2 separate regions of the Homo sapiens genome follow, and region 1 is linked to region 2. The links are contacts of gene promoters, found by promoter capture Hi-C in blood cells and fetal thymus (Javierre and others, 2016). All regions are on one chromosome and are shown on one strand. The core of a region is centred on a gene start or on the middle of the fragment in contact, and the rest is flanking DNA. Distances in the headings are between cores, read along the strand shown.

Region 1 (6,711 bases), core at 3,922-6,421, 270 kb before region 2:
TTTAGCTTCACTTTTGTGTCTTGTGGCCCAATCCCATGAAGGGCCCTGCGCCTCAGGACCTGATCTCAGCCTCCCCCAGGAATAGGAGCCTTGAGACAGCAGAGTTTCCTTCACTGTGCCTCCTTGGTGCCTGGCAGATAGTGTGCACTCAAGAAGCTTCAGGACGAGTGGAACAAGGACCCACCCAAGATTCCTGGAAGGGCCGGTGAGGAAGGGGTGGGTTACAAAGAGGCATGACATCACCTAGAAGTATAAAGAGGAACAACATGAAAAAAATGGGTGACCTTCTAAGGACAGGCTGATGCAGAAGTTCTTTGGTAGGTTCCTCTGCGAAGAACTGGGGATGAATATGCTAGAACATTCTAGCACTTCTGGACTTTGTCTTCTTACCCCCCTAACGATGCACATTCACACATGGATCACTAGTGGGCAATATTGCAATAGGTCATTTTGGAAACAAGTGCCCTCAGCTGCTAAACCACTGATGGGCATATACAAAAAAAAAGAAAAAGAAAGAAAGAAAACACTAGCTAACTTAGCAAGAGCAATGGTCAGGAAACCAAACAGCAATTGAGAACCTAGGCTTTGGGTTCAATGCACTTGTGTCTGAATCCCACTCTGCAGTTTACCAGTTAGATGTCTGTATTAGTGAGGCTAACAGCTATAACAAGCAGCTTGCAGGTCTGAGGCTTAGCCCCGTAAAGGTTTATTTAATCCGCTTAGTCCTCAGAAGCAGGCCCTCCATGCTGTGGATGCAGGATCTCTGCATTTTCCATCTGAGGGCATTTCCAGCTTCTAGGGCCTCCTTAGAGTCATCTCCCAAATTCAATCTGTTGATGAGTGAAGAGAGTGTGGAAGATTACACAGGTGTTTTATGGCCAACCCTGGAAATGATGAACATTGCTTCTGCTCTCATTCTGTTATCCAAAATGCAGGAACATAGACCCAATCTAATTGTAAGGGAGACTAGGAAGAGTGGAATTCCTGTGTGTCCGGGAAGAAGAAACAGGATTACAGAATGTACCAGGTTAAATAGTGTCTCCCCCAAAATGTGTGTCCTTTCCAGAGCCCTGGAATGTGATATTATTTGGAAATAGATTAGTAGCAGGTGTAATTAGTTTAATTAAGATGATGTCATCCTGGAGAATGGAGGGCCCTTAATCCAATATGACAGGTGCCCCTATTAGAAGAGGAGAGACACAGAGACAGACACAGAGGGAAGACGACCCTGGGTTGACAGAAGCCGAGATTGGTGTGATGCTGCCGCAAGCAGGAGAGGCCAAGGATTGCTGGCAACTGCCATAAGCTAAGAAGAAGCCAGGAAGGATCCCCTCACAGAGCCTTTGGGGAGGGCATGGCCCTGCAGAGACCCTGCTTTCAAACTTACAGTCTCCAGAACTGTGAGTGAACACATCACTGCTGTCTTAAGCCCCCCAGCTTGTGATACTTTTTCATGGCAGCCCCAGGAAGCAAATACAGTGAGCATTTCAGTGCCTGTCGACTACGTACTTCTTTAAGCCTCAGTTTCCTCACCTGTAATATGGGCATAATAATGATAATTAACCAATAAGTTTCTCAGAAAATCAAATGAGATGAAGTATGTGAAGTGTTTAGCACACTGTCTGAACCCTAAGTGCCTGAATTAGTCCATTCTCACACTGCTATAAAGAACTACCTGAGATTAGGTAATTTATAAAGAAAAGAGGTTTAATTGGCTCACAGTTCTGCAGGTTGTACAGGCTTCTGCTTCTGGGGAGGCCTCAGGAAACACAATCATGGCAGAAGGTGAAGGGGAAGCAGACACGTCTTACACGGCTGGAGCAGAAGGAAGAGAGAGAAGCAGGAGGTGCTACTCACTATTTTAAACAACCAGATCTCGTGAGAACTCACTCACTATCATGAGAACAGCATGGAGGAAACCACCCCCATTAGCCAATCACCTCCCACGGGGCTCCTCCAACACTGGGAATTACAATTCGGCAGGAGATTTGAGAGGGGACACAAATCCTAGCCATATCAGTGCCCGATAGGGATACCGTGATAATGACTGTTGCCAGGTGGTTTGGAGGTAAATATTGTGGCCTGTGGATTTGCCTATTGGCTGGCAGAAGAATCTAAGACTCAGCATCCTGAAGAAACCTGCAAAGTGGAGAGAGTGAGGGATTAGGGATATAAAGGCTGGGGTGGAGCCCAGCTGTGACTCATGTGCCCTGTGCTGTTGATTGGGAAAATCCAATCATTTCTTCATCTGTGAAAATGGGGGTAATAATAAATGCCTGCTCTACTTACTTCAAGAGGATGTTTGGGGTGCGAAATGAGATACAAAACTCTTACCCTAAATGTACAGCTGATGAAAAGCAAAGAATTGCCTCAGAGGTGAACTTCATTAGGGGTTAGATTCTAAAAGGCTGTGTGGGGCTCTAATCACCTAGAGCCAACCACAGCCTTGGAAAATCCATTGGGGGCACCTGTTGGACGCCAGCATTCTGTCTCTCAAAATCCAGCCCTGCTAGGTTTCCTTTAGCCTAAGTTGAACACCGAGTTGACTTGCATTTAGGAACAATGTTGCACAACTATCTTTAAACCACAGAATCTCACATAGCATCGTGAGATGCCCCCCACTGGGAGGGGCAGACACCACAACACACAAGAATGGAGACAGGGTGGGAATGTCAGGTTCACTGCTTCTATCCCAGATATACTCCAAGGAAGAGACAGAATCAGTGTCTCTCTCCCTCTCTCTCTCTCTCTCCTTCCTTCTCTTAAGGGCGAGCAATTGGAATCACCTAAATTATAAGACATAAAGTAGAGTAGTCCACTATCCTTAAATATTTAGTGGTTGTAGTCCTATTTGCATTCCTTTGGTAGAGAGAGGATTCAGCAAACACCTGTTTGTGCCATCTTGATGCGAAGGGTAATCCATGGAATTTCTACGCTCCCCCTGGCAGCCAATTAGCACCTAACTCTCCACAAGTTCAGTAACTAAGAAATCTGGGTTTTCCTTGCAAGGCAAAGGCATGGAGCAGTGGTAGACACGTGAATGCAGAATTTGGGGGCACCTGATGGCTGCAAACTTGCCCTGTTCTCTCATTCTGTGAGCAGACTCCTAAACGCTGGGGTGCGTCTGGTGTCTTTAGCCATTGGCTAAATTCTCAAAGGGGCTGTTTGTGTGACAGCTACACCTCTGCAATTTACAAACTTTTTCCAGGGCCACGGGTAAAATTTCACTACATATCCATTATTTTGTGGACCTTTGAAATGAGTTAAAATCTGACCACACCTCAGCACCCTTTAAACTCCATACTGGCTTCTGTGCTGGGGTGAAGTCAGCAACTGACGACGTCTCCATCATCACAGGAAACACTTTCTCTTCCCACTAAAAGCGTTGCAGTGACTTTCATAGTTGTGACCTCAACTTTGGATCAAATGGATTACTAATGTGTATTTATACAGTTTCTGAGTGATCAGAATGGATTTTATAACAACAGATACTGAGACCCAAGAACGCAGCATCAAGGGTATTCAAAAAGACATTGATCATCAAACTCCAGTTGCATCATAAGTGCCTGGATGATACTGAGATTAATTCCCAGCTTCCTGCATCCCAACCACACACTATTTCTGACCTTGGCTGCAGGTTCAATTGACACTCAAACCAGTAACACTGTCAGAAGCAGGTGGTGAGCACATCACTTTGCTATAACAACAACATCAGAAATCAGACAGAGCTGCTTTTTAAGATGTGCTTTTTATCCAAGTTCGATATTTTTCCTGAGAGTGATGTTGATCAATTCCTGAGAACTCCAGAACTCTCAAGCCTCGTCAGTACAACCAGGCTACAATCAATGAATATAATCAAATAAGGAAGACCTCACAAGCCCAGCACATGACTCTGACTAGCTAGAAAATTGGAGGGCAGAAAGAAAAGCGACAAGGTCATATGCAGAGAAAATAAATTTGTTCTCCTGGTGACACTGGAGAGGAATTTGGCCTTACGTTCAGGCCTCAAGTGAAGAAGAGATCCCCGGCAGAAGGCACCCCACGCCACTGGTCAGGTGTCTGCACAGGCAGCTTCATGGAAGGGCTATTTAAGTGAGAAAGAGTTGAGCAAGCACCTCTGACCGCCTTCAAGATCCCACAGGTGCAGTGGACTCCTGAGCCACTGGGAGACTAAAGGGAGAAGCATATGTCTGATCAAGGAAAAAAAGTCCACGGCTATGGACAAGAGAATCTGTTTGGTAGACTAAAGTCACCCTGAAATTCTGGGGTTTTAAATAACACATACTCACTTAAGATCTGGCATATGTATTTATACAAAAGACTAGAGCTTCTGGCCAGGAGTCAAGAACAGCCTGTCTGCCCGTGACGCCTAATTACAAATTGGGCTGGAGTTGGGGAGGGGGGTTGGCTATTTGGCAGTAGAAGCAATCATGAACTGCTTTGCAAAAACTGAAATAGAATAAGAAAAATATAATAGGATTCCCTAAGAAAGTGTAGAAGCTGGAAAGAGGCTTTGAGATCCTCCACTCACCTCCCACTTTACTCCCCTAGCTGGCTCCCTCCATCCCCACCATCCCTCCACCTCCTCGGAAGCCTGAGTCCCAGAAAATTAAGCCATGAGTCCAAGTTCATCCAGCTGAAAATCAGGAAGGGCTGCAGCTCAGACCCTGCTGTCTGCACTCCTGGGGTGCGGTGCTTTCCATTCCAGCAAATTTGCTTTGGGGGAAAAGATTTTGATGACAAATGGGCTCTATGCCTTAGAAAAAGCTTCCCTGCAGGAGTTCCTTAAAAAGTCGTTTGTCCTAATATATTTATAGCACAATTTGGCTTCTTAAAAAAAATTGTTTTCATGTCATGAATAGATCCATGGCAAAAAGCAAGGCCTTTTTGCAGAAAACAAAGACTGCTGACATCCTGACCTTGTCTAATGCAAACCTTTTAATTTTGACATAGAGCATCTTGACACTTCACCTCTACCAGGGATTTCCAGTCTGGCTGTCCATCAAAACCATTTGGGGGCTTGCTAGTAATGAGAATCATAGATTCCTAGACTCCAAGCCAGGCCTGCTGAATCAGAATCTATAGGAATGGAGTCCAGGAATTCATATTTTAGAATCTTCCTCGATGACTCAGATGCAGTCTGACACTCGTTCAATGACCACTATTTAGGAACTACTATCCATATCATAGAATATACCAGAGTGAAACTCGCTATTGCATTACAGTAGGTTGCCCTAGAAGAGGGTGCTCCATTGACCCAACCATCAGGGAATTTGTTATGATGACTGAAGAGAGGAAGAAAAATATCATTTATCCCCCAATGGCCTGTTTAGTTTTTGACTGTAGCCTGTTCAAGATGTTAAACATCTTTAAACATCATGTATACATCCAGTTTCTTCCTGAGACTGGAATTCAGTGCAGAGATTTCATGCAGGAAATATTGAGGAATCCAGTGCAGAGGTCTCATTTGTCCCTAAGCCACATGTCTTTAATTTCAGGGACATTCTGCCCTCATCCACATTTACCATCTCTCACCAGGCACTCAGAGACCTCCCTCCAAAGCTCCCAAGCTTTTTTGAGGTTGGGAAGGGAACACTGAATTTTATTTTAAATCTCTTTCATCTTTCCTCTCCTCACCTCAAAATAAAAATTGATCTCTAAGGAGCACAGGTATTGGCTTAACTCGTTCTGAATTACCCTAATCTGGAGTGACTCTTTGTCACTCATCATTTTACAGGTAGCAAGTCACATACCTATTATCCTGTTATCTCCTCCCAGAAAAGAACATTCTAATGGGAACTTGCTGTTCTGTTTTGCCAGCACCCTCAGCAACCAGGCTTCAGAGCCCCTGCTAGGAATGTTATGGGGACTGAAGGTTTCAGACTCCCCCCACGCCTTACACAAACGAGGAGAGAATCAGGTTTCTCACCACTGGCCACAGCAAGGTGGCCATGGGCCCTGCACTTCGAGTAGAGGGGGCCTGGCTTTGGGAGTCAGGCAGACCTGGGTTCAGATCACGGCATTGCTACTGGGTCACATGGATAAAATGAAGGGTCACATTCATTTTATCCGTCTAGGTCTGGTTCATGCTCTGTAAAATGGAAACAATGTTACCTCTGGTACTGGAGTTAGGGGATGTGTATGAAGAGACAGATGATGATTTTGAAAATAATGTAGCTCTATATTAAAACGCTGTGGTTTGCATTACATTTTAATTGGGAGAACAAGATAAAACAGGATGCTCAGTTGAGTTTCAAATAAACAACAGATGACTTTTCATTATAAGTTTGTCTCATGCAATATTTGGGACAAACTTATAACTAAGAAATTATCGCTTGTTTGTCAGAAATTTGAGTTTAACTGAGCTTCCTGTACTGTTACTTCCTAAATCTGGCAACCCTAATTTTAATGGAACATTTTGTTAACAGGGATGAATTAAATTCCTAGACAAGGAAAAGAATTGCTGACTTTAAGAAAATAAAAATAAAACCAGCTTTATTGAGATAAAATTTATCAGCCATATGATTCACTCAAAACAATGTTCTTAGTATAGTATTGTATAACCATAACCATAGCCTGAGTTTAGAACATTTCCATAACCTGACAAAGAAGCCCAGTACCCATGAGCAGTTACTCCCAGTCACTCCCACCTGTCACCCCCAGCCCTACAAGGAATCTGCTTTCCATCTCCACAGGTTTGTCTATCCTGGA
Region 2 (6,415 bases), core at 2,947-5,446:
GGAAAGAGAAGAGCCTGGCACGGAAGAGACAAGGTCTTCTCTGTTGCAGCTGCAGCAGCTAGGTAGCCTCTGTTCCCTCACACTTAGCACATCAGGACCGCGCCCATGCTCGAGTCGCCCCGGGAATCTCAGCTCTGCAAGACCTGAGGAAGTTCCCCTCTCCTGGTAGTGGGAGCCGCTGTCCCAAGAGCTGGCTGTCCCTGGGGTTGTCCTCTTGTGGCCCAGCCTTTCCTAGCCTGACTTGGCAATCGGCCTACGGCTGCAGCTAAACTCTGAACTCACTCCCTTCTTCCCTCCAACCAGAGCCCACCGAAGTTAACCAGCTGACGAATGCCCAGGGATGCCCTGCCCAAAAGCTCTCGGCTCCCGAAGGAACCCAGGTTTAAGAACAGAACGGGAGGCTGCAGACCAGTGTTCGGAAATACCAGCTGTCTCTGGTATCTCGCCTCGCGCGCTGTCGCTTTGCTCAATTTCGCAAACTAGATAAGCCTAAGTCCACTCCCCTTCCGCCCAGCATTCTTCCCTGCTCGCTGGGCGTTTCAGGCCGCGGAAAGTACAGGGGAGAGAGTGCCTCTGGTCGCGAACAAAGCCGCCTCTGTCTCCACCGCCTCCCGGAATACAGGGTTGTGCGTCCAGGTTGTACTTAGAGAGCGCAGAGGCAGTCAGCGAGCAAGACAGAAAAGAGTTTTGGAGACATTTGCTCTAGGGAAAATCGTCCAAACTTACACACTCTGGCAACACGTAAAGCTTTTCTTTTCTTTTTAATTAATTCAATGTCACGACAACATTAGTGTAACAATATTTTGTGGGTTTTTTTTTTCTCTTTTTCTTAAAAAGGGACTCAACCCAGGCAGAGGTGAGGGAGATGAGGGGAAACAAACTATCACAGAACAACAGGTGTACCGACAGAAAGAAAACAGATTGGGTGACAGAGCCAGGAGCCCTGCGGAGTAGAGGGTGAACTTTACAAGAAATCTGTACATTTATCAAATAAGTTAAAATTCTGCTAAATTGATTGTCCTTCACTTAAAGCGCTCCAGTATGCCTAACTTACTCCTTTGAGCATCACTACCTAAGCTTGTTTCTTTCTTCCCCCCTTTCCCCTGCCTACTTTTTTCTTTCTAAATGAATGACCATGATTATACAGTGAAAAGGTCTGTTTCCCACGGTGGAGGAGGAAACAGCTTTCTCAGGAGATTTTGTACAATATTGCACAGGTCAACGTACAATAATTACTGCAGAACATGAAAAGTAAGAGGAGAGGATAAAAGATATCATATTAAAAATACTGAAATTACTCTCTCAAAACAGGGAACAAAGTAATAATAGTAATATTAATAATAATTTACAAATGAAATTCTCAAAATAAATGCTACTAATAAATAAGACCACTTAGACCAGGCCAGATATGGAGCTGTTTCAAATAGTCAGAGTTCTGATTTTTGGCTGTCTTTTCTCTTTAGACACTTAGAGAATTCTTCCATCACAAAGTAAGACCGATGAAGAGGCTAATTGCAACAGACCTCTCCAGAAGAGAAAAGCGGCCTGAGTCGGGATTCTTATGAGAGGCTGCTCATATTTTGAAAATTAAGGTGGATAACTGATTTGGGGGTTGGGAGGAAGAAACATACCCAGAAATCCAGAAATAAAAGTACTATCATATGAATTCTCTCCCTCTCTGGATTCTGAAAACAGTTCTATAGAAAAGGAATAAACTAGGCCGGGCGCAGTGGCTCACGCCTGTAATCCCAGCACTTTGGGAGGCCGAGGCGGGCGGATCACGAGGTCAGGAGCTCAAGACCAGCCTGGCCAACATGGTGAAACCGCGTCTCTACTAAAAATACAAAAATTAGCCGGACGTGGTGGCACACACCTGCAATCCCAGCTACTCGGGAGGCTGAGACAGGAGAATCACTTGAACCCGGGAGGCGGAGGTCGAAGTGAGCCGAGATCGCGCCACTGCACTCCAGCCTGGGCAATAGATAGAGCAAGATTCCGTCTCGGAAAAAAAAAAAAAAGCAGAAAAGAATAAACTAGAGGGATTTAGGTTTTGCGCTTATTTTCCTTCTATAAAAATAAAACCAAAAAGCCACCGCGCAATGGAAATTTGGAAGGGAGGGCTGCACATTTTACAAAAACTATCGGCCGAAATCTCTGACCCGAAAATTTTGTCTTGTTCCTGCTTTCTCTTAATATAAGCCAAAAACCAAAAGTAAGAGGGGAAGCGCCTCCAATCCATTAGGGATGAATTGCACGAAAATGCATTGCAAATACTTACAAAATGCTACCGACTGGGGGAGGGGAAGCAGAGGCTGCGCGCCCAAGCCCCAGTTCCTGAAGGCCGCTGGACTTCTCGGCGCCCTCGGCCCGGCCCAGTCTCCTCCGGGGTCCGGACAAGGAGGCCGGGCGCTCCCTCCCCCACCCCTCTGGGGCCTCAGACCGGCCGTAGCAGCGGCACGGAAGAGACCACCGGGTGCGAGTAGTAGACGGGGTGCGGGAAGGTGAGCAGCGGCTGGCTGACTGGCACCGGGGCCCCCGCGGCTGCAGCCGCCGCGCCCTCGGCCGCCGAGTTCTCGTGGTAGAGGATGGGCACCCGCACGATGCGCTGCGCCGCGGCATGGCTCAGGTTGGCCGCCTCCAGCTCCGCCGCCAGCTGCCGCTTCCACTTGTTGCGGCGGTTCTGGAACCAGATCTTGACCTGCGTCTCGGTGAGGTGCAGGGACGCGGCCAGGCCGGCTCGCTCCGAGCTGCTCAGATAGCGCTTCATGTCGAAGGTGGACTCGAGCTGGAAGACCTGGCTGCGCGAGAAGACTGTGCGCGTCTTCTTCTTGCGGCACGCCGGCTTCTTCTCTGGACTTTCAGCGCCCTTCTTCCAGTCTTCTGCGCCCGGAGTGGCCGCCGCCGCCCCTACGCTCGCCCCGGCCGCGCCTGGCGCCGCTTCGCCTTCCTTTTTGCTTTCCTCGGAGTCGCTCTCCTCCAGAATGATCTCGTCCGGGCTCTTGGAGTCCAGCTCCTTGTGATCGGGGTCGGCCTTGAGCAGTGGCTCCGGAGAGTCGCGGTCTGTGCCGGAGGCGGGGGAGGAGTCTCTCAGCAAGGCCTTCTCCGAGGCTGGGGAGACAGACAGACGGACGCACACACATGCACACCGACACAGCCTTGAGCGAGGCCCGGCGCCTGGGGACGGCAGGCTCAACCCGCGCCGGCCTCCAGGTCCCAGGCCATGAGGCCTCACCATTCCCGCGGGCTGCCTCCTTCTCGGCTGGGCCAGAGAAGGGACGCCGAGTCCTGGGATCCCCCTCCTCCCGAGGACAGGCAAGCAGATGGTGGTAGCGCGGCCACCTCCTTCCATTCCCTCAGCTTCCTCGCCAGGGGCCGGCAGAACGGTTCCCTTTCGGCTTAGGCGCATTGGAATCACCCCCTCCTTCCAGGCCGTGTCCCAAGCCCCGGCCGTCCGAAGCCTCCCTATTCACGCCCGAGGCCACTTTTCCCGGGAAGCACCGTGCCCGGGGCTCCAATTCCACTTCTTTTCTCACCAAGTGGGATTGGATTAACGGGCAGCGCAACCCAGCGCGAGGGCAGGCTAGGGGCCGAAAAAAACTGACCGAGCAGAGGGTTTGCGGGTGCTGGGGTCCCAGAACTGCGGAGGGAAGCAGCGCGGGGCGGGGACGGGGCGGGCGCGCAGGGGGACAACGAAAGTTCAAAGAGAGGTCGGTACCTTCAGGTCGCGGGAGGTGGCCGCCGGCGGGGGTCAGGGTGTAGGGGTACCACCAGGCTGGGGAGCGCTCCAGGTAGTGCGCGGGCAGGGCAAACCTCTGCGCCGGGATCTCAAAGCGAGGGAAAGCCAGGTCGCCCACCTGCGAGAGCGCGAAGCCCGCGGCGCCCTCCAGGGCCCCCTTGGCCGCCGCGGCAGCGGCAGCGGCGGCGGCGGCGGCAGCCGAGGCTGGCGCGAAGAGCGTCCGTGGGGGCGGCTGAGGCTTAGGGGGCGGCCGGTGGTGGTCTCCGTTGAGCAGGTTCTTGATGGAGAACGGGGACTCCTTGGGAGCGGGTGGGGGGGGCGGCGGCGGTTGGGGCTGTGCGCTGGCGGTGCCGGCAGCGTCCGGCCCGGGTTCCGGCATGGTCCCCTCTCCTCCGGGTCCCCGGGAGGGAGGGAGCGGGACAGGCGGGCGGCGGGGCGAGCAGGCGAGAGGCCGGAAATCAGACCATAAACGGAACTCAACTACGGGGCGCAAAGTCGGGGGCCGCCCCGGGCGCAAATCCAACGGCGGGAGGGCGGAGTGAGGACCCAGACGGGCGGGCTCGCATGAGGGAGGGGTGCGGAGGGGCGGGGAGCGGCCCTGCCGCGGCACCGAGGGATCGAGGCGGCTCGGCTGCGGCTGCGGCTCCCGCGGAGGAGGCAGCAAGAGCAGTCCCCGGCTCGAGGCTGCGTCAATCCGGCGCCGGATGCTAATGATGAAATCAAAATGTCATCCAAGTTAAATGCGGGGAGTATACGGCGATTGGGCGCGTACAATGGCAAATGGGATTAGGCAGGCGAAGGCTCAGCCGAGCCCCGGCCCCGCAGCCGCCTCCGCCACCGCCCCCTCCTCGCCTTCCCTCGGATTTTGGCGCTTTGGCTTCGGGCTATAAGAGCCCGCCCGTTATTGGCTTTATATAGTCCAATTAGGCAGCAAATGAGGACAAGCCTATTAGCACAAAAGGATATTGGCTCCCGCTAAAGAGGCACTCGGAGCGCTCCTGCGAGCGCAGGAGGCGAGCGAGGGACGCGGAGCAGGCGGCGCCCTTGGCCGAAGCGCACTAACGGCCGCGAGCCCGGAGACCGCGCCTGCCTCTCCCCCCTGCGGCGCAGGGACCCGCTTCCCGCCGCCAGGCCTGCGGGAGGGGGGAGGGGCGGACCAGGCCCTCCCGGGTCACCTCGGGGTTATCTGCGCTCGCAGCTGCCGCTCCCCCGCCCCCTGGGGCTGGACAGGGGCCCGCCGCCCCCACGCAGCTGGAGAGCCACGCAGCGCCGGCCCAAGAGGCAGGACGTGACCTCGGCCCTCGGAGAACTCATCATTTTCCTACCCTTTGGGGTCCGGCGACCTCGGTATTTTTCCTAAAGCCTGCTAGGAAGGGCGAGGCCAAGAAGAGAGGGATTTGGGTTCCCCACCCACCATCCAGCCGATAGTAAGGGAATCCAGGTGTAAGTCCTCGCACTGCGTCTTCGGACTCAGAAATCCGCGTGGCCTTGGCCTTTAGCCCTGGAAAACCGAAGAGTGAGCCTTCCCCCGGGACCAGGAGTGGGTGTGCCTGTGTGCGTATGCGCGCTGACCCGGCCAAAACCCGCGCGTCACTCGGTGGGGCTGCTGGGGCAACAGCTTCTCGGCACCGACGGCTGCTCTCGGAAGGGCACCCCTCTGCTCTGGCCGCCGGTGCCCAAGGCTCGCGGATCAACTCCGAGTCTGTGACCCCGACGACAGCACTTTCTCCCAGGAAGTCTCTCCGGCCAGCTGGCGTTTGGAGCTGTCTAACTAACGCTTTAATGGGGGCAAGGTGAACCGAAGGCGCAGCGGCGTAGCTTCCTCCGCCGCGGCAAGCAGCGGCATCCGCTGCGCGTCTCGACGGCAGCGAAGTCCTTAGAGAACCACACTGGACCTTTGCAGAACGGCTTAGTGAAAGGACATTCCACTCCACTGGCTTTAAAAACAGCTCCCCGGTTCGCACGAGAAGCCCATGAGGCAGACATTTAAGACTCATGATTTAAGCATCAAGTAAATCAGAATTGTTTGTGAGGTCCCCTCCCGAGAGACAGCTTTCTTATCAGAGAAAGGTGACAAACTGGCCTCACCCTCTTCCACCCTGGTGAAGCTCCCGCACACGAGGGCTTTTTGGGATCCCTTCACCTCCCCACCGCTTTCTTTTTCGTTAGATTGAGCCTCGCCTAATTCAAGGCCGCCCTGCATTGGCAGACGTGATCGTGTGGGGTCCCCACTTGAGAGGTAGATTTTGTTTTTCGGTCCTGGGGCGTCAGACCCTCCCCCACCAAATCTCGACGGGCATATGTAATGTTTCTTTCTGCATTCATCTACAGCAGCGAACCCCATTTTTGCTTTGGAAATCTGGAAACGTAAATGGCGCTTCCATAAACAATTACTGTTATTACTCCCTTGAGTTTACACAGGGCTTTACTGGAATGCAAAACGCTACGCCATCCAAAATCTGGGTTGGAACGGATCACTGCCCTGAGACCCCAGCAGGGTGGGTCTCATACTTGGATTTTGTAAGTGGAAACCCGCGCCCAGAGAGGAGGAAACTGGGCCTAGGTCGCCCAATCGCTGCTGGATACCCAGAGGTCATTTTCCCCCAACCGCAGAAATAGCTCGATGCACGTAGGTCTATGAGGGTTGGGTGGGCACCGCCTGCACACAGCCTGCCACGC

Evidence for each region. Contacts are between HindIII fragments. The CHiCAGO score rates a contact against its expected background, and 5 or more counts as called.
Region 1: a fragment that was not itself captured here is called in contact with the fragment with the promoter of HMX3 in region 2 in 4 of 17 cell types (M2 macrophages, M0 macrophages, naive CD4 T cells and 1 more); the score reaches 8.8 in M2 macrophages.

Annotation. Positions count from the first base shown.
Region 1 is chr10:123,407,272-123,413,982 of GRCh38, reverse strand. The region is part of intron 6 of LINC02641 (long intergenic non-protein coding RNA 2641); the gene reads right to left. Among named protein-coding and RNA genes, the nearest start is that of LINC02641, 63 kb to the right of the region's middle. The HindIII fragment of the contact is 803 bases long and covers 4,770-5,572 here.
Region 2 is chr10:123,133,751-123,140,165 of GRCh38, reverse strand. HMX3 (H6 family homeobox 3) reads right to left here and starts at 4,196. Exons shown (of 2, transcript NM_001105574.2): 1 at 3,716-4,196; 2 at 743-3,108. The coding sequence starts at 4,115. The coding sequence ends at 2,435. RefSeq lists silencers at 3,768-3,817, 3,828-4,237, 4,288-4,367, 4,748-4,877, 4,908-5,027 and 1 more and enhancers at 74-843, 1,884-2,848, 4,031-4,981. The HindIII fragment of the contact is 8,924 bases long and covers 1,080-6,415 here.